Linked DNA regions of Homo sapiens: all the other regions are linked to region 1. The links are contacts of gene promoters, found by promoter capture Hi-C in human tissues and cell types (Jung and others, 2019). All regions are on one chromosome and are shown on one strand. Each heading gives the region's core, a stretch centred on a gene start or on the middle of the fragment in contact. The rest is flanking DNA. Distances are from core to core; before and after follow the strand shown.

Region 1 (3,368 bases), core at 453-2,952:
TTTAGGGAAATGCATGTTAAAGCAGGAGATACCACTTCACATCTACTAGAATGTCTAAGATTAAAAAGACTGACCACATCAAGTATTGGTGAGGACGTGGTACAACAGCAACTCTCATATACTGCTGGGGTAGGTGTTAAATAATACAACCATTTTGGAAAATATTTAAGCACTTTCTTTTCTTTTTCTTTTTCTTTTTTTTTTTTTGAGATAGAGTGTCGCTCTTTCGCCCAGGCTGGAGTGCAGTCGTGCAATCTCCACTCACTGCAAGCTCTGCCTCCCAGGTTCATGCCATTCTCCTGCCTCAGCCTCCCGAGTAGCTGGGACTACAGGCACCCACCACCACGCCCGGCTAATTTTTTTCTTTGTATTTTTTAGTAGAGATGGGGTTTCACCGTGTTAGACAGGATGGTCTCGATCTCCTGACCTCATGATCCGCCCTCCTTGGCCTCCCAAAGTGCTGGGATTACAGGCGTGAGCCACCGCGCCTGGCTAGCTGTTTCTTTCTTTTTTTTTTTTTCTCAAGAAAAAGGTGTTAAATAATACAACCATTTCGGAAAATCTTTAAGCAGTTTCTTTTCTTTTCTTTTCTTTTTTTTTTTTTTTTGACAGGGTCTTGCGTTTTTGCCCAGGTTGGAGTGCGGTGGCGCTATTGGAGTGCGGTGGCACTATCTCGGCTCACTGCAAGCTCCGCCTCCCGGGTTCAAGCAATTCTCCTGCCTCAGCTTCCTGAGTAGCTGGGATTACAGTTGTGCGTCACCACACCCGGCTAATTTTTGTATTTTTAGTAGAGACGAGGTTTCACCATGTTGGTTAGGCTGTTCTCAAATTCCTGACCTGGTGATCTGCCCGCTTCAGCCTCCCAAAGTGCTGGGATTACAGGCGTGAGCCACCACGCCCGGCCTACTCAACTAATTTTTACATCTTTTGTAAAGAAGGTAATCTCGAGGAGCTGGGATTACAGGCGCCTGCCACCACGCCCGGCTAATTTTTGCATTTTTGGTAGAGACGGGGTTTCACCGTGTTGGCCAGAGTGGTCTCCAACTCCTGACCTCAAGTGGTCTGCCTGCCTCGTCCTCCCAAAGCACTGGAATTTACAGGGATGAGCCACCGCGCCCGGTCCAGCCTATTTTTCTTAAGATATCATTTGTGTTTTTTTCTTTCTTCCTAACTTACATTTTATAGGGTTTGCTGGTATAGTTTTTATAAAAAAAAAAAAAGTTGGGCCGCGCACGGCGGTTCATGCGAGTCCCTGCTATACAGGCCTTGAGGATTCTGCAGAGACCAAGATAAGCTGGGGGGCCTGAACAGTTTAGCAGGGGAGGCCGAGACTCCTGTAACAATCATGCAGTAGTTAATTACAGGGGGGTGAGTGCAGGGAAGACGACAGGGTGACAGGTATATTGCGTAAGTAGACACTGAGGCCCAGGGAAGCGCAAGGAATAGTCCAGAGACACACAGTCTGCGCTGTCACCGGCGGGTTCTCAAATTTGGCCCGCAGGGTCGGCGGCGCTGGGGCTCCCGGCCCGCGATTGCCACGCCCACCAGACCCGAGGTTGCCCCGCTCAACCCGGCCGGCCGTAGCCGCCAGTACCGTGTGGAAGCGTGAGAGTCGAGGGGTGGCACGTGACTGGCGGGGCGGGGCGGGGCTGAGGCGGTGGAACGCGCAGGCTAGTGGCTGTGTTTCCCGCCGGAGGCTTTTGCGCAGAGCCCCGCGTCCCTGGGGGGCGGCGGCGGCGGCGGCAGCGCAGGCGGCAGAGGCGCAGGCGGCGGAGGCGGCTGGGGGGTCCGGAAGTCAACACCATGTCAAGTCTGCACAAGAGCCGGTAAGGGGCCATGGGGCCTGACCCGGCTGGGCCACTCCTGGCCAGGCTGCCCCTTCTGCCCCTCAGAAGGGGGAAGCGCGGGTGTGGCCAGGAATCGGCAGACCCCCTCGGCAGAGGGTCTCGAGCGTCCACCTTCTAACCTCATTGCCTGTGGGCTGCAGGAACGACGGAGGGGCGGCCCTTCTCCTGCCCCTGATGTCACTGCTTCTGCCTCCCTCATCCTGGACCCCTGGTGTCCCCCTTCCCCTGAGTCTTCCTCATCCAGACCCCCATGCCCCGCCCCCGTGCCTTTCCCCCTTTTGATCCCCCTGCTCCCGTACTCTCTCCAAGTGCACCCTGTCCCCCGTGCCTTTTTCTTACTAGGATTGCTAGAGAACTTGCATTCTCCAGTCTGGCCCCTCCCCCAGGCCAGATCCTGCAGCATTGGCTGAATTTTGCTCACTCTTCAGTTTTCCTTCAGGACGTGTTTTTTAAACCCTTTGTCCTTGCCTTCTGGCAGGCCCAGAGGTCTTGTAATGGTTATATTTGTGAGCATGGTCCATTGTCTGCATATCAAATTACTCCTGGTTCCTGAGGTCCAAGGAGTTCAGTTGGTGGCTGTGCGTGGACCCGGCCTGGCCGGCAGGAAGTGCCCAGTAAATGTCAGCTCACTAAGTATTAGAATGTTGGAATATGTCTAATTTTATGGTCCTCATTTGGGAACTTCTAGACAAGAATATCTCTCAAGTTTCTTCCCTGGCATTCTGTGTTTCTGGTTGTAGAGGAAGAAGTGAAATATAGTTTTGTTGTTCTCCAAAGCTGTCTTTGGTGAGGACCTTGACTAAGCTGTGTGATTTTTATGTCCTAAAGGGGAGAGAGGCACAGGTTGGAAACTGGCAGTGTGAGGGAGCTGAGGGCTGTGGGTCTCACTGAGCCGATATCAGCATGCTTCATTTGCCGCCCTATCTCCCCTTCCAGAATTGCAGATTTCCAGGATGTCCTGAAGGAGCCCTCAATTGCATTGGAAAAGCTGCGGGAACTCAGCTTTAGTGGTAAGAAGCCATTCTGTATTTTCACGGTTTCCCTACAGCAGCCCTGTGGCTAGAATACAGGGGGAGGCCACACCTGGTCAGCTCTGGGGCCCAGCTGCTGGGGGCTGGGGCCTTGGAAGGAAATTACACACAGACTCTTGGGGCCTTTTCCAGATTCTGTAGAGCTGAACAGGCAGTGACTGCCTTGAGCTTGGAGGGGTTTCCCAGAGGGGCAGTGGCCACACTTAGCATGCCCTAAGCTTTCCTAAGCTTTCCGCAGGAGGTGCCAGATTCCTGAGAGTAACAGGACAGGACTGAAGCCTGGAGAATGAGAGTTGGGACCTTTTGAGCCCAGGACAGTCTTTCCTCATTCCTTAGCTAGCTTCCTGTGTTGGTGAGTTTGGTTAACTGCAGGGTTGTTCCTTGTTCTCTCCCTGGCTTGGGGTCTAAGCTGCCTGAACTAAACCTTGGCTAGTGGTAAAATGGGTAGCCTTGGGACACTGACTTTAAGGAGCTGATCCTGCTGTGTTAG
Region 2 (3,368 bases), core at 327-2,826, 470 kb before region 1:
CAGGCGCAGTGGCTCATGCCTGTAATCCCAGAACTTTGGGAGGCCGAGGCAGGTGGATCACCTGAGGTCAGGAGTTTGAGACCAGCTTGGCCAACATGGTGAAACCCCATCTCTACCAAAAAATACAAAATTAACCAGGTGTGGTGCTACACTACACTCCAGCTTGGGCAACAAGAGTGAGACTCCGTCTCACAAAAAAAAAAAAAAAAAATTAGCCAGGCGTGGTGGCGGGCACCTGTAATCCCACCTACTCGGGAGGCTAAGGCAGGGAGAATTGCTTGAACCCAGGAGGCGGAGGTTCCAGTGAGCCGAGATCATGCCATTGCACTCCAGCCTGGGAGACAGAGCAAGACTCTGTCTCAGGAAAAAAAAAAAATACTGATTCCTGTGGGTGCTGTGCAGTCGGCACAGAGGAAGGGCCCAATAAACGGTGGCCACTGTGGTCACTTCCTGCCTTTCTCCCGGTCTGTTTCTCCCTCTGGCTGAGGGACAGAATAACTCTGCATTCACTCGTGGGGAGACAGAACAGGGAGAGGGGGCATGAGATCATGTCTGCCTGCCTGTGCCTCAGGAAGCAAGACAAGGGGACTGTGACTGTCGCGGCTGGAGGATGTGGGCACCACCTGACCCTGGGGACACAGATGGCTCATGACTAGGGCTTTGTGTGTCCAGACCCAGCCACATGCAGGCCCTGGCCATTAGGTCCAGAGTCACGCGCCTGGCTGCCCCATGATGCAATGATGGTTTTCCTTCTCCGGACCAGGGGTATTCACTGGCCATGGGACCCAGAACAAGTCACCTAAATCCTACTTTCTTCTTCCATAAAATCATATAGTATCTACCTAATAAAGTTGTTGTGGTAAATAAATGTGCATAAAGGGCCTCGAACTATGTCATGTGTGGGAATCACTGAATAAAGGTGGGTGACTGTGGTATTAACCTGTGATTACCTCCGTCCCACCTATCCACTCCCCAGCTGATCAGCCTTGGGGCAGGAATCAGGGCAGGAGAGGAGTGGTGGGACGTGGGTGCCAGGTAAGAAGTGGGCTGGGCTCCTGGTAGCTTCAGGATCTTTTCTCAAGCCTTATCACTGTACCCCCAGGCTTCTCACATCACCTACCAAGTACTCCAGAAGCCTGGGCATCCAACCGATGTCCCACGCCAACCTTGAGATGGGCGAATGCTGGTCCACATACTGGAAAGAAACAAACAAGGTCCATTTTCTCAACTAAATGCCACCCCAGGATGGCTTTGGGCTGCATGTTGACCTCGTTCTCAGAATGGGCCTCATGGAGCCCAAACTAGCATCAGGCCAGACTCTCAGGCTTCCCCGTCATGGAATCTGGGACCCTGAACTGTATCCTCAGTGCCCTGGGATCCAAAGGGCAGCCCAAGATGCCTCTTACTCTGCCTATCATCAGTCTCCCAGTGAGAGGCTCTAAGAAGACTGGCGTAACACTGAAGGTCAAGAGTGCGGGGTTCCCTGCCCAGCTCTACTGAGGAAGAGTCCCTGGAGGAAAATGGAGGCTGTGAGCTCCTTAAGGCAGAACCTGGGTGTGTCAACTCACTAGCTGCTCAGGAAAGAACTACTGAAAGAATAAATGCAGGAATGAGCCAGAAGTGTTTACACTTCTACAGATTAAGAGGAATCTAGGGGAAGAGTCCAGGGTAGTTAAGGGCCTATTGAATCCAGGCCATGTTACTAAATGTCAACACTGAGCCTCAGTTTTCTCCCTTGTGAAATGAAAATAGGACCCATCTCACAGCACTGTGGTGATATCAATGAGGATTGTACTTGGGGGAAGCTTAACACAATGCCTAGTACAGAGTGGCGACTCAATACATTATACTTCTTATTGTTACCATATAATAGAGTCATTGAATATCACAAGTCCAACGGGTTTTTGAGGTTTCTGGTCAAACCTCTAGATTCCCTGACACATGCCTTAATCACATCTAGTGATGGGGACACATTACCAGAACCAGTTCCATTGTTGGGCAACTTTATTCAGTAAAAAAATCACTCTTTCGGCTGGGCGCAGTGGCTCACACCTGTAATCCCAGCACTTTGGGAGGCCAAGGTGGGCGGATCACCTGAGGTCAGGAGTTCGAGACCAGCCTGGCCAACATGGTGAAACCCCATCTCTACTAAAAATACAAAAATTAGCTGGGTGTGGTGGCACACACCTGTAATCCCAGCTACTTGGGAGGCTGAGGCAAGAGAATAGCTTGAACCTGGGAGATGGAGGTTGCAGTGAGCTGAGATCACACCACTGCACTCCAGACTCCAGCCTGGGCAACAGAGCAAGACTCTGTCAAATAAATAAATAAATAAACTTATTCTTTCCCAGAAACCCAAAACCCCTACCTTAGGACTTCTACCTAGGGTCTCATTTCTCACCTGGAGTCCCAGAATAGAAAAAGGGTCAGCAAACTACAGTCCACAAGTCAAACCTGAAGACTGAAGACTGTTTTTTTTTTGTGTGTGTGTGTTTGCTTGTTTTGTTTTGTTTTGTTTTGAGATGGAGTCTCACTTTGTCACCCAGGCTGGAGTGCAGTGGCGCCATCTCAACTCACTGCAACCTCCACCTCCCAGATTCAAGCGATTCTCATGCCTCAGCCTCCTGAGTAGCTAGGATTACAGGCACCTGCCTCCATACCTAGCTAATTTTTTGTATTTTTAGTAGAGACGGAGTTTCATCATGTTGGCCAGGCTGGTCTTGAACTCTTGACCTCAAGTGATCCGCCTGCCTCGGCCTCCCAAAGTGCTGGGATTACATGAATGAGCCACCGCATCTGGCTTGTTTTTTGTGGCCTATGAGTTAAGAATGGTTTTTGCATTTTTCAGTGGTTCAAAATAAATCAAGAGACCAGTTGCAAGGGCTCACGCTTATAATCCCAGCACTTTGAGACGCCGAGGCAGGCAGATCACTTGAGCCCAGGAGTTCAATACTAGCATGGGCAACGTGACAAAACCCCATCTCTACAAAAAATACAAAAATTAGCCAGGCATGGCCGGGCGTGGTGGCTCACACCTGTAATCCCAGCACTTTGGGAGGCCGAGGCGGGTGGATCACGAGGTCAGGAGATCGAGACTATCCTGCCTAACATGGTGAAACCCCGTCTCTACTAAAAATACAAAAAATTAGCTGGGCGTGGTGGCGGGCGCCTGTAGTCCCAGCTACTCGGGAGGCTGAGGCAGGAGAATGGCGTGAACCCAGGAGGAGAAGCTTGCAGTGAGCCGAGATCGTGCCACTGCACTCCAGCCTGGGCAACAGAGCATGACTCCGTCTCAAAAAAAAAAAAAAAATTAGCCAGGCATAGTGGCCTGTGCCTGTAGTCCCAGCTACTCGGGAGGCTTAGGTGAG
Region 3 (3,368 bases), core at 254-2,753, 450 kb before region 1:
GGATTACAGACGTGCACCACCACGCTCGGCTAAGTTTTGTATTTTTAATAGAGACAGGGTTTCGCCCTGTTGGCCAGACTGGTCTCGAACTCCTGACGTCATGTGATCTGCCCACCTCAACCTCCCAAAGTGCTGGGATTACAGGCATGAGCCACTGTGCCCAGCTTATTTTTATTTTTTGAGACACGGTCTTACTTTGTTGCCCAGGGTGGAGTTTAGTGGTGCAATCACAGCTCACTGCAGCCCCAAGTTCCAGAGCTCAAGCAATCCTCCCACCTCATCTTCCTGAGTAGCTGGGAGTACAAGCAAGAGCTACCTGGCTAATTTTTTTTTTTTTCCTGTAGAGGCAGAGTCTCACTATGTTGCCCAGGCTGGTCTTGAACTCCTGGCTGAAGTGATCCTCCTGCCTCAGCCTCCAAAAGTGCTGGGATTACAAGCTTGAGCCACCACGCCAGTCCCAGAATCTTTTTTTTTTTTTTTTTTTTTTTTTTTTTTGAGATGGAGACTTGCTCTGTCGCCCAGGCTGGAGTGCAGTGGCGCAACCTCGGCTTACTGCGACTTCCGCCTCCCAGGTTCAAGCAATTCTCCTGCCTCAGCCTCCCAGGGATCTATTAATGTTTAAGGACAAGTGGCAACTGTGGATGCCCAACATGGTTACTTAACAAGAAACCAATTTTTCAGAGGCCAAGAGTCCCAACAGGGCCGAGAATCTGGCCACTCGCCTATGGCTCTGGAGGTGGCATGACAAATAAGGGTGGCATGACAAATATAGGTTAACTGATTTGTTGCAGGGACCAGAGATCATAGATGGTGAAGTTAACTAAGGGCCTCCAAATCCGTGTCCTTTGTGCCAACAGGTGTGCCAGGCTGCTCACAAGACACCATGGTACGAGAAAGGATTTCTCGTAGTCACCTAGACACCAGGTTTATGGCTGTGTCGCAGCAAAGTTGGGTGTGACTTATGATTTTCGTTCTGAACCTTATTTGTTAGATAGGTCCTGGAGTCCTTAAAACACGCAGGTGAAAGTCAGGGAGTAGGAGCCATCAAAATTCGACTCTGGTGGGACTCGAACCCACAACCTTTGAATGACCACACTAGGCTCAGCTAGAAGTCCAATGCGCTATCCATTGCGCCACAGAGCCGGCTGCGGAACCCGGCCGCCCCGCTCACCTCTGCCTGAAACCGCCCTCTTAGCGAGCTTCTAGGTGTGGTGCTGGGTGTTTGCTGAACTCGGCCGGGGCCCGAGAGCGTGCTCCGGGTTTTCGGCTGTGGTGTGGACTGGGGTGCTCTTCCTACATCCGGGCGCTGGGGACAGCAGGGGGCAAGGGCCGGGGTCGGCAGGGAGGAAGGGCCGGGGTGAAGCCCGCCTGTCTCCTCGCGGACTCGGGGGTCTCCTCGGCTGGGTGGGGCCGCGCGGCGTGGACTACAACTCCCAGCGTGCCGCGCGGCGGCGCCGCCCGAAGCCGTTGCGCGAGCAGGGCGGGCTGGGGCCGAGCGGCGTCAGGCGCGCTGGGGCTGCGCTGCGCCGCCGGCTCTGTGGCTTGCCGGCTTCGGGGAAGGTGCGGCAGGCGGTGCTGCGGCCTGGCACAGCAGGTTTGGGGTGCGGGAGGCGGGCGGGGTAGGAGCGCGGCGGGCGGGGCCGGGCGGCGGGCGGGGCTGGCGGGGCGGCCGGGCCATGCAGGGCGCAGAGCCGGCTAAACCCTGCTGAGACCCGGCTCCGTGCGTCCAGGGGCGGCTAATGCCCCTCACGCTGTCTACGCTGCTGCAACCGGGCCGCATCTGGACGGGGCGCCGCGCGGCGGAGCCGACGCCGGGTGAGCATAGACCGGGCTGGTGGGTTCCCGGGTGGGGACATGTGCCAGGCCGAGTCGGGCGAGGTGGCGGTGCGGACCCCAGGTGGGGGGCGCGCCCTGCGGCGCTATTTCCCCGACAGACGCACTGTTACCTTGCTGTCTAGGGGCGAGGGCGGCACGCGTGACCCGGGACAGGGGCCCGAGGGAACTAGTCACCCTCTTCTGGCCTCTTCTTGCCCCAGCCTTCCAGGACAGGTTCCTGCCCCTCTGCTATGGCGGGCTATGGGAGGCCAGAGATCTGAGGACCCTGGACCCTGGCGTTGGGGTTGAGGACTCTGGTTCAGTTCCCCCGCCCCCGGCTTTTGCTTTTCGCGAGGGGGAGGGGGAGATGGTCTCCCAGGGCTTCTTGTGGTCCAGACCATTCCCTTTTCCTGGCTTGGAGGCTCTCAGGCCATTTCACATTTGTGACCTTCATCTACTCCCAAGAACAGGAAAACTCGGAGAAAAACAGTCCCATCAGATGTCCCCTTGATCGAGTCCTCAAAGCTCCAGGAATAGAACCCAAGAGTCCTAGCTCAACCCAGCCCCTGAAGCACAGTCAAGTCATTCGCCTTCCCCTAAGCCCTAGACCCCAAAGATTCATCCGAGTGGCTGTGTGTGTCTGTGTGATGGGTGGTGGTGTCTTCAAGGTCCTCCTCGCCTCCCTCAATCAGCTTTGCCCCCTGGGCGGTCACCTTTCAAGCACTTCCAGGCTCTAACTCGTTTTCTGGGTCGCCCTCTATAGACCAACAGACGCACTGCGATACCTGAGTCTATGGGCAGGGACCAAGCAGGGCTCCTTTTCCAGGGAGCTGCCCCTTTGACTTGGCCTGGTCATCCACAGAACCTCCCTGGGTTCTGGGTGGGGAGTCGAGCCAGAGACTTTTTTTTTCTTTTTTTGAGACGGAGTCTCGCTCTGTCTCCCAGGCTGGAGTGCAGTGGCACAATCTCGGCTCAATGGAACCTCCGCCTCCCGGGTTCAAGCAATTCTTCTGCCTCAGCCTCCTGAGTAGCTGGGGTTACAGGTGTGTGCCACCATGCCTGGCTAATTTTTGTATTTTTAGTAGAGACAGGGTTTCACCATCTTGGTCAGGGTGGTCTCGAACTCCTGACGTCATGATCCGCCTGCCTCGGCCTCCCAAAGTGCTGGGATTACAGGTGTGAGCCACCACTGCCAGCGAGCCAGAGGCTCTTAAGTCAGTACCCACCCCCAGGCCATCCGGTTTTAGGGACCCTGGATGTCAGAAGAGTGAACTGTCATGTTTTGGCTAGAAAAGCCTCTTAGAACACGTCTCAGGACAACTCGGTGGTGGCCACTGCGCAGACCAGACTTCGCTCGTTCTCGCATGCCTCGCTCCGCTTTTCCTCCGCAACCATGTCTGACAAACCCGATATGGCTGAGATTGAGAAATTCGATAAGTCGAAACTGAAGAAGACAGAGATGCAAGAGAAAAATCCACTGCCTTCCAAAGAAACGATTGAACAGGAGAAGCAAGCAAGCGAATCGTAATGAGGCGTGCACCGCCAATATGCAT
Region 4 (3,368 bases), core at 84-2,583, 370 kb before region 1:
GCATTCATTCTCTCGAGGAATCCCTGCAAACCCTCCCAGATGGGTGGCGTTATCAGCCCGATTTTACCCGAGAGGCTCCTGAGGGAAAGGGACCTGTCTGAGGTTGGTGACAGACACCCAGTTCGATCCCATCTGTGGTGCCGCCAGGCCGCTCCCTTTTCTGCTCCTCTCCCGAGAGGCTGCAGAGTTCTTTCCCTCCCAGCAGGGTCCTAAGGACCCCGGCGGTGCTCCAGGGGAGCCAACATCCCCTGCTTTGGAGGACGGACGGGTCGGGTCGCAGTGAGCAGCTCCGTGGTGTCCCCTAGTTCTACACTCAGACCAAGAGAGGGCTGTGAGGGCTGTGCTCTTTTTTTTTTTTTCTTTTTGAGACGGAGTCTCGGTCTGTCATCCAGGCTGTAGTGCAGTGGCGCGATCTCGGCTCACTGCAACCTCCGCCTCCCGGGTTCAAGCGATTCTCCTGCCTCAGCCTCCCAAGTAGCTGGGAGTACAGGCACCCGCCACGACGCCCGGCTAATTTTTGTATTTTTAGTACAGATGGGATTTCACCATCTTGGCCAGGCTGGTCTTGAACTGATCTCAGGTGATCCTCCCGCCTCGGTCTCCCAAAGTGCCGGGATTACAGGCGTGAGCTACCACGCCCGGCCTGGCTGTGCTCTCTTAAAGGGCCGAAGCAATGCGGGTGCTGGCGACCGACGCAAGGAGGTGACGCACAGGGGACTTAAGGAGCGGACCGCCGCGGGAGGACGCGCCCAGCTCAGGGGGACTCCCTCTGCGCCCCCCACGCTGGGTCTCCGGCCCACGCGTGGCCCGGCTGGTCTGCGGAGCTAGCGCCAGGGCCGCCAGAGGGCGCCCGGGGCGGAGGATGGGGCGGGAGCCGGGGAAGCCCGGGAGGTGGTGGCCGAGTGGGCGCCGCCCCTCTGGGTCTGCGGCTCAGGTCGAAGAGTCGGCTGCGTGGGCCGGGGAATCCGGATTCCGGGGGTTCAACGCCCAGGGGTTCCATGAGCCCCTACTGTTCTCGGACGCCCGGCCGGCCCCGACGCACTCGTCCTAGCACCCCTCCCCTGTCCGGTCCTCCGGCCCCTCCGCCGTCGCCCCTCCGGGGTCCAGCCGGGCGGGGCTGCTCCAGGGTCGCGGCTGGCGCGGGTCCCCGGGCCCTGGCCCTCCGGTGCCCCGGGCCAAGGAGAGAAAACTTGAGCATCCACGCACAGGGGTGGGGAGCAGGATCCCACTCTGAGGGTGCACTGCCCCGCCCTCTCCGGGTCTGCCTCGGCCCCGCCCGGGCCCCAGGCCCCGCCCCCTCCCCTCGGCCGGCCCGAGAGCTCCGGGGGCCGCTGCAGCCGCCCAAGCGCCCGCCATGCGCGCTGCCCGCGCCGCGCCGCTGCTCCAGCTGCTGCTCCTGCTGGGGCCGTGGCTGGAGGCTGCGGGCGTTGCGGAGTCGCCGCTGCCCGCCGTGGTCCTTGCCATCCTGGCCCGCAATGCCGAACACTCGCTGCCCCACTACCTGGGCGCTCTGGAGCGGCTGGACTACCCCCGGGCCAGGATGGCCCTCTGGTGAGAGACCCGGGCATTGGCACCGAGTGGGCACCTAACCCCCAGCTTCGCAGATGGCCCCCGCCCCCGGCGGCCCTGTCTGCTCGCTCCCTGCCCAGACACCACCTAGACAGGCCCCTCCCCTCACAGACGGCCCTGCCAGCCCGAGCCGCCAGAGAGGACCCCGAGCCCCCTGCTGGGAGACGACAGACCTCTGAGGCCACAGGCCGACGCGGGACACCCACCCCTCCTTCTGGTCCCCTACTCCTTCCTCTTGGGGCCTTCCCTGGGTGTAGGTTGGGCCCAGCCAGCCCTTTTCACCCCAGCCTTCAGGGCCCAGCTCAACCCCAGTGGGACCTGTGGTTGGCTGGATTTGAAGAGGAGCAGACAGGAACCTCTGAAGTCCACTGGGGCCCAACGTGGCAGGGATCGACCACGCTGGAGGCTTCCGGGCACAGGTTGGGGGTGCCATCAGCACTGGGCTCCGGGCTGTGCAGGGGAGTCAGACCGGCCCCCCCACCGCCCCCGTGCTGGGGCCAGCTCTCTTGGTAGATCTTGGTAGAGGGGCGGGATCCTGTCAGCCAAGGGCAGTCCCCCTTCCTGGAGCCTCTCCCCTCTGGCATCTCTGTACCCCCAGGGCACTGGGATCGAAGGCCACAACCCCTGGTCTGTAGACACCAGAACAGGGAGGAGTCCCTGGCTGAGGTTGGGGGTAAACTGAGAAAAATGACAAGCCACCCTCTTCAACACACCACAGTTGGGCTGGGGGGGTGGAGCCCTGGCCTGGGGAGGCCGCCCACAATTACCACAGTTTGGGAGTTTGTTAGTTCCCACCCCTGTAAGACTTGACACGTAGTCTTCATTTCTGGGGAATTGGCTTAAAGGGGCAGCATCACCCAAAACCTGGGCACTTGGCTAAACCCCCACCTCTGTTATGGGGGCCCCTTCCCCAGGAGAGGGGAGGCTGTGCCCCATGACAGCAGAGCTTGGACCCATCTGCATTCTTAGGGACGCTTAGAGCATGGTTTGGTCCTTATTACAACCTGGGGGTGGAGGAAAGCAGCAGCTCTTCTGTCTAGTCCCCATTCAGAGAGGGACAGGGGCTGGCCTGTGGTCACACAGCCACAGGTCACATAGGTAGGTATCTGCCCACCTAACGAAGGTAACCAGGGAATGCACCAGGTGTGATCCTTAAAGTCGAGGTACTTTTCATCTTTCAAAATGCATTCGTTGGCCAGGTGTGGTGGCTCACGCCTGTAATTTCAGCACTTTGGGAGGCCGAAGTGGGCAGATCACCTGAGGTGAGGAGTTCAAGACCAGCCTGGCTAACATGGTGAAACCCCATCTCTACTAAACAAACAAAAATTAGCCGGGCATGGTGGTGCACACCTGTAATCCCAGGTACTCAGGAGGCTGAGGCAGGAGAATCACTTGAACCCGGGAGGCGGAGGTTGCAGTGAGTCGAGATCATACCACTGCACTACAGCCTGGGCGACAGAGCAAGATTCCATCTCAAAAAAAATGCATTATTCTTCTCTTATCTTTGTCCATGACATAAGCAGGACAGCTTAAGTTATAGAGGGAGGACGTGAAGCCCAGAGAAAGATGGGACTTGCCTGAGGTCACACAGCAGGTCACAGAACTGTGGTGGGGACCTGGCTGTGCTGCCTCCAGCCTCTCTGCTGTAGCACACCTACCCTTCACTGTTCCAAGGAGAGCTCGACCTCAAAGGTGTTAGTGCTTTGGGGTCAAGGCTGCCTTGGGGTTCAATCCTGTGGCTGTGCCCCCTCAGCCTTTTTTCTTCCCGTCCCCAGGTGTGCCACGGACCACAATGTGGA
Region 5 (3,368 bases), core at 617-3,116, 350 kb before region 1:
TATATATGTATGTATGTATGTATGTATATATATATTTTTTGACACAGGGTCTCCCTCTGTTGCCCAGGCTGAAGTGCAATGGCGCAAACCCAGCTCACTGCAGCCTCAACCTCCTGGGCTCAGGCAATCTTCCTGCTTCAGCCTCCCATGTAGCTGGACCACAGGCACATGCCACCATGCCTGGCCACATTTTTTTTTGTAGAGACTGGGTTTTGCATGTTGCCCAGGCTGGTCTCAAACTCCTGGGCTCAAACAATCTATCCACCTCGGCCTCCCACAGTGCTGGGATGAGAGGCGTGAGCCACTGCACCCTGCCACTTTATATATATACATATATATACACGTATATACGTATATATACACGTATATATACATATATACGTGTATATACACGTATATACACATACACGTATATACACGTATATACACATACACGTATATACACGTATATACACATACACGTATATACACGTATATACACATACACGTATATACACGTATATACACACACGTATATACACGTATATACACACACGTATATACACGTATATACACACACGTATATACACGTATATACACACACGTATATACACGTATATACACACACGTATATACACGTATATACACACACGTATATACACGTATATATACGTGTATATATGTACACATACGTGTATATACATGTATATATGTATACATACATATATATACATGTATATATATTTGTTTGTTTTTAAGACAGAGTCTCGCTCTGTCACCCAGGCTGGAGTGCAGTGGTGTGATCTCGGCTCACTGCAGCCTCCGCCTCTTGGGTTGAAGCGATTCTCCTTCCTCAGCCTCCCTAGTAGCTGGGATTACAGGCATGTGCCACCACGCCCAGCTAATTTTTGTATTTTTACTTTATATTTTTTAACTCATGGCTGAGCCTCTGCATCTCAGCTGGCCTGGGAGGAGGCTTCCTGATCTATGGTTGAGCAATTGGAGGGACAGAGAGGGGAGGACAGGTGAGGAGTCAGGCCGATCCAGCATCACCTCTGTGCTGGGTGATCTTGGGTGGGTGCCATCCCTTCCCTGGGCCTTAGTCTACTCTTCGGTCATTGTGGCTGGTTGGGTATAGAGTGGCCTAGCCTGAGCCCGGCTCACAGTGAGTGCTCACCTGTTGGGGCTGATGTGGTCATCCCCGAAGTCATTACCAGCCTCACCTTGCTGGTCAGGGTGGGCCCAGCCAGTCCAAGGGCTGCTGATGTCCCCCGGCCCTTTGGATCATCTCTTGTGCAGCTGAAACCCTGGCTTAGGGGAAGAGGAACCGCCTGGGAGGGGCTGGGGGAGATCCTGGGTTCCCCTCTGGCACTAACCAATGTGGCCACCAGAGGGCGCAAGGTGGCAGAGCCTGGACTTGGCCAGGATGCTCTCTGCTGGGTTGGGGCCAACACCAGGAAGGAAGCATGGGCCATAGGGAAGCTCCCATTGGTGCTGGGGCAACCCGCAGCAGCTCTGCGTCTTCTGCTCTTCTGATGGGAACTGCAGGCCTCTCCCCTGGCCCCAGAGAGTCGGGCTTCTGGGCCCAGCCGCTGTCTGTCATGCCTGCACTCAGGCAGCTGGAGGGGTGGGAGGGGAGATGGCTCCTGGCCTTGGCCATGGCTGCTTTGGCTTCCACCGTTCCTGCTCCTCTTCCATGTGGCCCCCTGACTTGGTTGTGTGAGCACTCCAGTCCTGGCAGAGCCTGACAGGCACTCCCTGAGGTTGGGGTATCCCTTGGCTCTGTCCTGGGGTTGAGGTCCAGGACCTGGCACGGCTGTGAGAAGGACCTTGGGCTGGAGCTGTGGACTCGGTGCTTTATTCGTTCTAAGATGAAAGTCATTCATTCTGGATGGCTATGACCTTGAGCGACTCACTTCTCTCCAGGCTCCAGGTGTCCCCTTCATTCATTTGTTAACCTTTATTAAGCACCTCCCATGGGCCGCAGTCAGGCCCTGGGGATTCAGCAGTGAATGAAACTGACAAAACCCCTGACCTCATTAAACTGACATTCTTTTTTTTCTTTTTTTTTTGTGGCGGAGTCTCACTCTATCACCTTCTGTCACCACACCCGGCCAAAACTGACATCCTAATGAGGGATGCAGACAAAAACAAAGAAAGATCAGAGGGTGTGAATTGCTATAGAGAAAAATGAGAAGCGGAGAGATACAAAGTAAGATCTGAGAAGTTAACACCTGAACAAAGACGCAGGAGTGGGCCAGGCATAGTTGCTCATGCCTGTAATCCTAGCACTTTGGAAGGCCTAAGCAGATGGATCACTGGAGGCCAGGAGTTTGAGACCAGCCTGGCCAACATAGGGAAATCCCATCTCTATTAAAAATACAAAAATTAGTCAGGTGTGCTAGCGGGCGCCTGTAATGCCAGCTACTCGGGAGACTGAAGCAGGAGAATCACTTGAACCTGGGAGGTGGAGGTTGCAGTGAGCTGAGCTTGCACCACTGCACTCCAGCTTGGGCGACAGAGTGAGACTCCATCTCAAAAACAAAAGACTTCGCCAGGCAGGGTGGCTCACACCTGTAATCCCACCATTTTGGGAGGGCGAGGCAGGTGGATCACGAGGTCAGGAGTTCAAGACCAGCCTGGCCAAGAGGGTGAAACCCCGTCTCTACTAAAAATACAAAAATTAGCCAGGTGTGGTGGTGGGCGCCTGTAGTCCCAGCTACGTGGGAGGCTGAGGAAGAGAATTGCTTGAACCTGGGAGGCAGAGGTTGCAGTGAGCCGAGATCAAACCACTGCACTCCAGCCTGGGTGACAGAGTGAGACTCCGTCTCAAAAAAAAAAAAAAAATAGACAAAAAAAAAAAAAAAAAAGACTTTAAGGAGGGGAGGGGCTGAGCCTTGGGGATAGCAAAAGGAAGAGCTTCCAAGCAGAAGGAACAGCATATGCAAAGGTCCTGAGGCAGAAGCAGGACTGACAGTGCAGAAGAGAGGAGGACCAGTGTCTAGAGTTGATAGAGCCAAGGCTGGGGCCAGAGCAGGGATGGCCATGAAGGCCATTTTGGCTTTTACTCTGAGATGGAGCCCCCAGAGAGATGGAGGCAAAGAAGTAACCATCTAACTTACATTTTTACATGATCACCCTGGCAGAGATGTGGCATGATCTCATGTAGTGTTATAAGATCACACCGGCTACTGTGCTGAGAATAAACTGTAGGCAGGTCCATGGAAGAAACAGTGAGACCAGTTAGGAACCCACTGTAATAATTCAAGCATGGCTGGGCGTGGTGGCTTATGCGTATAATCCTAGCACTTTGGGAGGCTGAGACGGGTGGATCACCTGAGGTCAGGAGTTCGAGACCAGCCTGGCCAACATGGTGAAACCTCATCTCT
Region 6 (3,368 bases), core at 407-2,906, 290 kb after region 1:
AGTCCAGTGAGGTCAGGGCTGAGAAAGGACAGGAAATGCAACCGTGAGAGCCCAGTACTGGCCCCTCACTTGACTGTGGAAACCTGTAAGCCGAGGAGACACCTGAACCAGATTGGGCCGGGCAAAGTAGGGCAGGAGAGGCAGTACATCCCACGCAGCAAAACAGCACATGGTGGCCAGGGGCGGTGGCTCACACCTGTAATCCCAGCACTTTGGGAGGCCGAGGTGGGCGGATCACGAGGTCAGGAGATCAAGACCATCCTGACCAACACGGTGAAACCCCGTCTCTACGAAAAGTACGAAAATTAGCCGGGCGTGCCACTGCACTCCAGCCTGGGCAACAGAGCGAGACTCCGTCTCAAAAAAAAAAAAAAAAAATTAGCTGGGCATGGCGGCTCACGCTTGTAATCTCAGCATTTTGGGAGCCGAGGCAGGTGGATCACCTGAGGCCAGGAGTTCGAGACCAGCCTGCCCAACATGGTAAGACCCGGTCTCTACTAAAAATGCAAAAATTAGCCGGATGCGGTGGTGCGCGCCTGTAGTCACAGCTACTCGGGAGGCTGAGACAGGAGAATCACTTGGACCCAGGAGGCTGAGCAAGATCGTTCCACTGCACTCCAGCCTGGGCCTCAGAGCAAGACCCTGTCTCAAAAAACAAACAAACAGACAAAAACAGCACATGCTAGCGGCAGGAGACAAGAGGCTGAGCCCTCCCAGCCCACCTTACCTGCACTGTAATCCAATCCAGCCAGAGACAGAGTCGGGTAGGAGAGGTGAAGGCGGGTGGGAAGGTGTGGCTGTTCACGCAGGAATGTCTTGGGAAAACTGAGGGGTAGGTGGAAAACCGACTTCTTGTTTGAAATGCTCCCAAGACGCCTCATTAAGTAGCATAGACGTGACTGAATCAATAAATCTTTATTAAATGAATGAAAGGAGGAAGGAGTCCTTAACTGTAGCTAAGCTTCCACTCTTAAGTATCAATTAAGCTTCTCTGTTCAGTCCAGCGTTTAGGGCGCCTACTGCGCGCCCCGCCCCACACACTTTTGACAAAAAGGTCGCCTGCTCTGTGTGACTTGCCCTTTCGCCGGCCAGTATGGGGCAGAGGGAAATAAGCCCCCTCTGCTCTCTGGTCTCAGTTTACTCGTAACTGAAAGTGGGTCGGTTCAAACCCCCTGGAGCTGAGGTTGCCTCTCCTCTTCGAGCACGCGCTATCGGACGCGCAGGTCCCCAAGACCGCGGATCGGCAGGGGGTACCAGGGAAGCCTTCATTCAGGGCGCAGGTCCCAGCCGAACCAAAGCTCCCACCAAAGTTCAACACGCCCCCAAAGCCAGCGCCTGATTGGCCCGCCCTGCCCACAAGCTGAGGCAGCCTCACCTTCTGATTGGCTGTTATGCTCCCTGTTCGGTGCTGGAACCCTCCCCTTCTCTGATTGGCCAGATGCCTACCTGCGCTCGCCCCAGATTGGGCGCCAGCTGGGGCGGCTCGTTGGCTCCCAGGGGCCCCGCTCTCTGATTCGCCGCTCGGGCCAGCCCCCACGGCCTGCACGCTGAATGGCTGCGCCGCTACCTATATTGGCCTCCGATTGGGTGCACGGCGCCTCCCCGGCGTGATAGGTCAGGACCACCGCCCCCCTGGCTCCCCATTGGCTGCTCGAAGAAGCCCGGTCTCCGGGTAAGATGGCAGCGGACGGACAGTGCTCGCTCCCCGCTTCATGGCGGCCGGTGACCCTCACCCACGTCGAATATCCTGCAGGTAAAAGGCGGTCCCGGCTCCAAGGACGCCTTCCCAGGGACGGCCTCTCAGTCCCGGGCGCTCCGGCCTGCTCGAGCCCGCGGAGGGGGCGCCGGGGGACCGGGGTGGGAACTGTCAAATAGTGAACCACGGAGGGGCTCGGCCGGCGCGCGCGCCGCGCAGGCGCAGTGGTGCGAGGATGAGCTGGGCGAAATTGTGAGGCGCTCGCTCGCGCACTCTGCGGCTGCGCGGCCAGGGCGCTCCCCCGGGTCCCGGGGCGCCGGTGGGCTGAAATGGGTTGAGGATCTGTGTGAGGCGAGAAAAGATCCCTGGCCTGGACCTTGGCCCTTCTTCCCCGCCCTCCCCTGTCCCAGAGAGGCCGCACTCCTGTTCCAGCGTGCAGGGAGTGTCTTGTTTCCTTCGAACAGTGCTTTGGGCTGCTTGTAAGAGAAAGAGCTCCCCGTTGCTGGGAGTGTGCAAGCCGAAGCCAGGCTTTTGAGTACTTGTGGTGCCACGCCCTGAGCAGGGCACGATTCCACAACAGAGAGGACCCGATGAGGGGGCGGGCAGCCTCCGGGAACTTGACTTCTGTTGCTTCCCATCAGACACACCTCTCGAAGTGCAGGGCTTTCCAGTTGAGAGGTCCATTAGCGGCGTTCTGGAGGCTGTCTAGTAAGAGTGGCGCAGAGCCTGGGCGTGGGGGTCAGACCCATCTGGGCTCCAGTTGAGGCTGAGGCCTTGTGCAGGTGCCTGCCTCTGCTTAAGTTAATTCATCTCTAAAGTGGGACTGATTACAGTGCTTACCTTCTGGTGATGGTATGAGCATCAAATAGCAGGAGGCACAAGAAGGGCTGAGTACAGTGCCCGGCATGCAGTAAGCGTTCAGTAAATACCTGCAGTTAATGTTATCCCACCTTGCAAGACCCTCCCTGGGTAAGATGGTTGAGTGCCAGGGAAGGCTGGAGCCCCTCATTGAGCCCTGGTTGCCTGGGAAGGGCCTGCTCATGCTGCTGTCTTGCGAGATGTGAGAACCTGGGTCCGCTGAGGGCACCAGGACTGAATGCCAAAGAACGTTGACGCTGGTGTTCTGGGTTGTACTGGGGGTGGTATGGCCCTGCCAGGTCCTGGGCCCTGCCTGCCTGCCTGTCTACCATTCATTCATCCATTCATTCATTCAGTCAATATCCACTGAACACTTCTGAGTGCTAGGCCCTGGGCTAGCTCTGGTTTTTAGAATGCTTAACAGGCCTGAAATATCCCTGCATTCCTGCACTATGAAAACCAGCTGCTTTATAAGAGGAAAGCCAAAGCCTGGAGGTGGGGAAAGACTTGCTAAGGCCTCTGCACCTTCACAGCTTCCCCTCCTGGCCTCAGAGTAGCTTCTTGGAGTGCTCACAATCCAACAAGCCAGAAGGAACCTGGCAGGCAGTTGTGTGCAGCATGATACAGGCTGTGATGGACCTGGCTGAGCCTGGAGCATCTGGTGAGGTCTAGTCCCCTATTAATGCTTCCATGGTTCCCTGCACTTCTCCGTCACACCCCTCTTCACACCGTCACTTGCTTACTTCATTCATTCAACAGTTTTTGAGCCCAGTTAAGAGCCAGGCCCTGTGCTGGGCTTGGGGGATAGAGTGGG
Region 7 (3,368 bases), core at 233-2,732, 260 kb after region 1:
CAGAGCGAGACTCTATCTCAAAAAAAAAAAAAAAACGAAGCAAAAGTAGCCTGTGATTTCAGCACTTTGAGAGGCTGAGGTGGGCGGGTCACCTGAGGACAGCAGTTCCAGACCAGCCTGGCCAACATGGTGAAACCCCCTCTCTACTAAAAATACAAAAATTAGCCAAGCATGGGGGTGCATGCCTGTAATCCCAGCTATTTAGGAGGCTGAAGCAGAAGGATCGCTTGAACCCGGGAGGCAGAGGTTGCAGTGAGCCGAGATCACACCACTGCACTCCAGCCTGGGCTATGGAGTAAGACTCTGTCTCAAAAAAAAAAAAAAAAAAAAAAAAAAGCAAAAGTAGACCGGGTGTGGTGGCTCACACCTGTAATCCCAGCACTTTGGGAAGCCAAGTCGGGAGAATTATTGAGTCCAGGAGTTTGAGACCAGCCTGAGCAGCATAGAGAGACCCTGTCTCTATAAATAATTTTTTTTTAAAAAGAGAAAGAACATAAATTAGCTGAGTGTGGTGGCTCATACCTGTAATCCCAGCAATTTGGGAGGCAGGAGGATTGTTTGAGGCCAGGAATTCAAGACCAGCCTGGGCAACATAGAGAGTCGCTGTCTCTGTTAAAAAAATAAGAAGCAAAAGTCTCCTGTGAAAATAAATTTTAATTGTGTATTATTGTTGCAAAAGGAAAGTATTATCTTTAGAATTGGAAAAATAAGTGTTTTGTTTTTTTTTTTTTGGTTTTTTTTTAGACGGAGTCTTGCTCTGTCGCCAGGCTGGAGTGCAGTGGTGCCATCTTGGCTCACTGCAACCTCCGCCTCCCGGGTTCAAGCAATTCTCCTGCCTCAGCCTCCTGAGTAGCTGGGACTACAGGTGCGTGCCACCACGCCCAGCTAATTTTTTGTGTTTTTAGTAGAGACAGGGTTTCACCATATTGGCCAGGATGGTCTCCATCTCTTGACCTCCTGATTTGCCCGCCTCAGCCTCCCAAATTGCTGGGATTACAGGTGTGAGCCACTGCGCCCGGCCTAGAATTGGAACAAGAAGTCTTGAGACTAATATGGAAGAGGACCCTGAGAGACACTCAGGCAGCCTAATTTTGTGTCTGTCCTGGGAAACCTGGAGTCATCTGCACAGCGTTTAGCTTCTGTGCCCTGTCCCACTCTGCCTGCTCTCATTTCACCTTATTTTCCCTTCCCTACTTTTCTCACTTCTAACAAAATATTGGCCATGTATAGTGGCTTGTACCTGTAATCCCAGTACTTTGGGGCAGGTGGATCACTTGAGCCCAGGAGTTTGAGACCAGCCTGGGTGGTATGTGGAGGCCCTGTCTCTGTTTTTTTTTTTTTTTGGAGACAGAGTCTTGCCCTGTCGCCTAGGGCAGAGGGCAGTGGCACAATCTTGGCTCACTGCAACCTCCGCCTTCCAGATTCAAGCAGTTCTCATGCTTCAGCCTCCCGAGTAGCTGGGAGTGCTACCATGCCTGGCTAATTTTATGTTTTTACTAGAGACAGGGTTTCACCATTTTGACCAGGCTGGTCTCAAACTCCTGACATCAGGTGATCTGCCCACTTCGTTCTCCCAAAAGTTGGGATTACAGGTGCGTGCCACCACACCCGGCTTTCTTTGTTTTATTTTATTATTATTTTTTAATTTTTATTTACTTTTTTTTTTTGAGACAGTCTCACTCTGTTGCCCAGGTTGGAATGCAGTGGCACAATTTCAGCTCATTGCAACGTCCACCTCCCAGGATCAAGCGATTCTCCTGCCTCATCCTACCAAGTAGCTGGGATTACAGGCGTGTGCCACCACACCTGGCTAATTTTTGTATTTTTAGTAGTGACGGGGTTTCTCCATGTTGGCCAGGCTGGTCTTGAACCCCTGACCTCAGGTGATCCACCCACCTCGGCCTCCCAAAGTACTAGGATTACAGGCATGAGCCACTGTGCCCAGGCTATTTTGTTTTGTATTTTTGAGACAGAGTCTCACCCTGTCGCCCAGGCTGGAGTGGAATGGCGCAATCTTGGCTCACTGCAACCTCTGCCTCCCGGGTTCAAGGATTCTCCTCCTCAGCCTACCAAGTAGCTGGGATTACAAACAGGTGCCACCATACCTGGCTAATTTTTTGTGTTTTTAGTAGAGACAGGCTTTCACCACGTGGGCCAGGCTTCTCTCGAACTCCTAATCTCATGTGATCTGCTGACCTCAGCCTCCCAAAGTGCTGGGATTACAGGTGTGAGCCACTGTGCCCGGCCCTGTCTCTATTTTAAAAAATAACCTTTGGTGCATTTCATTAAATTTTTTTTTTTGAGACATTCTTGCTCTGTTGCCCAGGCTGGAGTGCAGTGGCACAGTCTTGGCTCACTGCAACCTCCGTGTCCCAGGTTCAAGCGATTCTCCTGCCTCAGCCTCCTGAGTAGCTGGGATTACAGGCGTGCGCCACCCCATCTGGCTAATTTGTGTATTTTTATTATAGATGGGGTTTTACCTTGTTGGCCAGGCTGATCTCGAACTCCTGACCTCAAGTGATCCACCCACCTCGGCCTCCCAAAGTGCTAGGATTACAGACATGATCCACCCAGCCCATCCTAAAAAAATTTATATATATATATGTATATATATTTGAGACAGGGTCTCACTCTGCTTCCCAGTCTGGAATGAAGTATTGCGATCATGGCTTACTGCAGCCTTGACCTCCCAGGCTCAATTGATCCCCCACCCTCAGCCTCCCAAGTAGCTGGGGCTGCAGGCCACGCCACCACACTTGGCTAATTTTTGTATTTTTTGTTGAGACAGGGTTTCGCCATGTTGCCCAGGCTGGTCTTGAACTCCTGGGCTCAAGCAGTCCTCCCCCATCTCGGCCTCCCAAAGTGCTGGGATTATAGGTGTGAGCCACCGTGCCCGGCCTTTTGTATATTTTTAAAAGTTGTCGTCTCACATCTCTTTTGCAAGGAGAATTCTAAACCATTCTCTCAATCAGCAGCCCAGAGAAGGCTAAGCAAGGAGGCGGGAAAGCAGATGGACCTCATTCTTGGCTTATCTGGCAGATCGGGACTCCTCTCCTCGGCCTGGCCCTGTGCCCTGTGGCAGGGATATGGCAGGGATGTGGTCATGAGCAGGACATGGAGGGCCCCGCGCTTTTCTCCTGAGTGCACGCCCTTGGGGCCCCTCTGTTCCCCTGACTTAGAAGGTCGGGACCGATTCCCAGATGAGGAAGAAGGGGAAGGTGGTCCAGAGTGGGGGCAGCCCGTGTAAAGGCCACAGGGGATGCCTGTGTGACGCCTGCCCTTCTGCTCCTCACAGGATACTCCAGCCGGAGAGTCCAGAGCCCCAGCAGCAAGAGCAACGACACCCTGAGTGGCATCTCTTCCATTGA

What was found. Contacts are between HindIII fragments. The study calls those that stand out against the background at their distance.
Region 2: a contact is called between a fragment that was not itself captured here and the fragment with the promoter of TBC1D13 in region 1, in 1 of the 25 tissues and cell types used here (hippocampus).
Region 3: the fragment with the promoter of SLC27A4 here is called in contact with the fragment with the promoter of TBC1D13 in region 1 in 1 of the 25 tissues and cell types used here (dorsolateral prefrontal cortex).
Region 4: the fragment with the promoter of CERCAM here is called in contact with the fragment with the promoter of TBC1D13 in region 1 in 3 of the 25 tissues and cell types used here (IMR-90 fibroblasts, dorsolateral prefrontal cortex and lymphoblastoid cells).
Region 5: a contact is called between a fragment that was not itself captured here and the fragment with the promoter of TBC1D13 in region 1, in 1 of the 25 tissues and cell types used here (spleen).
Region 6: a contact is called between the fragment with the promoter of DOLPP1 here and the fragment with the promoter of TBC1D13 in region 1, in 9 of the 25 tissues and cell types used here (H1 embryonic stem cells, IMR-90 fibroblasts, dorsolateral prefrontal cortex and 6 more).
Region 7: a fragment that was not itself captured here is called in contact with the fragment with the promoter of TBC1D13 in region 1 in 1 of the 25 tissues and cell types used here (spleen).

Annotation. Positions count from the first base shown.
Region 1 is chr9:128,785,551-128,788,918 of GRCh38, forward strand. It overlaps TBC1D13 (TBC1 domain family member 13), which reads left to right and starts at 1,703. Exons shown (of 12, transcript NM_018201.5): 1 at 1,703-1,826; 2 at 2,784-2,857. The coding sequence starts at 1,804. RefSeq lists a silencer at 1,351-1,840. The HindIII fragment of the contact is 9,895 bases long and covers 1-3,368 here.
Region 2 is chr9:128,316,032-128,319,399 of GRCh38, forward strand. TRUB2 (TruB pseudouridine synthase family member 2) reads right to left here. Exons shown (of 8, transcript NM_015679.3): 3 at 1,121-1,195. It overlaps LOC105376286 (a long non-coding RNA gene), which reads left to right. Exons shown (of 3, transcript XR_930377.3): 3 at 1-868. Among named protein-coding and RNA genes, the nearest start is that of TRUB2, 4.7 kb to the right of the region's middle. The HindIII fragment of the contact is 1,882 bases long and covers 636-2,517 here.
Region 3 is chr9:128,339,024-128,342,391 of GRCh38, forward strand. SLC27A4 (solute carrier family 27 member 4) reads left to right here and starts at 1,504. Exons shown (of 13, transcript NM_005094.4): 1 at 1,504-1,815. TRR-TCT3-1 (tRNA-Arg (anticodon TCT) 3-1) reads right to left here and starts at 1,143; the gene lies at 1,053-1,143. It also overlaps the pseudogene TMSB4XP4. RefSeq lists silencers at 881-1,522, 1,151-1,560, 1,631-2,030 and an enhancer at 2,667-2,846. The HindIII fragment of the contact is 12,819 bases long and covers 1-3,156 here.
Region 4 is chr9:128,419,524-128,422,891 of GRCh38, forward strand. It overlaps CERCAM (cerebral endothelial cell adhesion molecule), which reads left to right and starts at 1,334. Exons shown (of 13, transcript NM_016174.5): 1 at 1,334-1,551; 2 at 3,345-3,368. The coding sequence starts at 1,355. RefSeq lists a silencer at 720-1,619 and an enhancer at 1,880-2,069. The HindIII fragment of the contact is 34,497 bases long and covers 1-3,368 here.
Region 5 is chr9:128,437,436-128,440,803 of GRCh38, forward strand. No RefSeq gene overlaps it. Among named protein-coding and RNA genes, the nearest start is that of ODF2, 17 kb to the right of the region's middle. RefSeq lists a silencer at 1,183-1,356. The HindIII fragment of the contact is 5,750 bases long and covers 1-3,368 here.
Region 6 is chr9:129,079,455-129,082,822 of GRCh38, forward strand. It overlaps DOLPP1 (dolichyldiphosphatase 1), which reads left to right and starts at 1,657. Exons shown (of 8, transcript NM_020438.5): 1 at 1,657-1,753. The coding sequence starts at 1,678. RefSeq lists a silencer at 1,355-2,084. The HindIII fragment of the contact is 10,069 bases long and covers 1-3,368 here.
Region 7 is chr9:129,045,132-129,048,499 of GRCh38, forward strand. MIGA2 (mitoguardin 2) reads left to right here. Exons shown (of 16, transcript NM_001329990.2): 4 at 3,296-3,368. Among named protein-coding and RNA genes, the nearest start is that of MIGA2, 10 kb to the left of the region's middle. The HindIII fragment of the contact is 4,265 bases long and covers 1-3,368 here.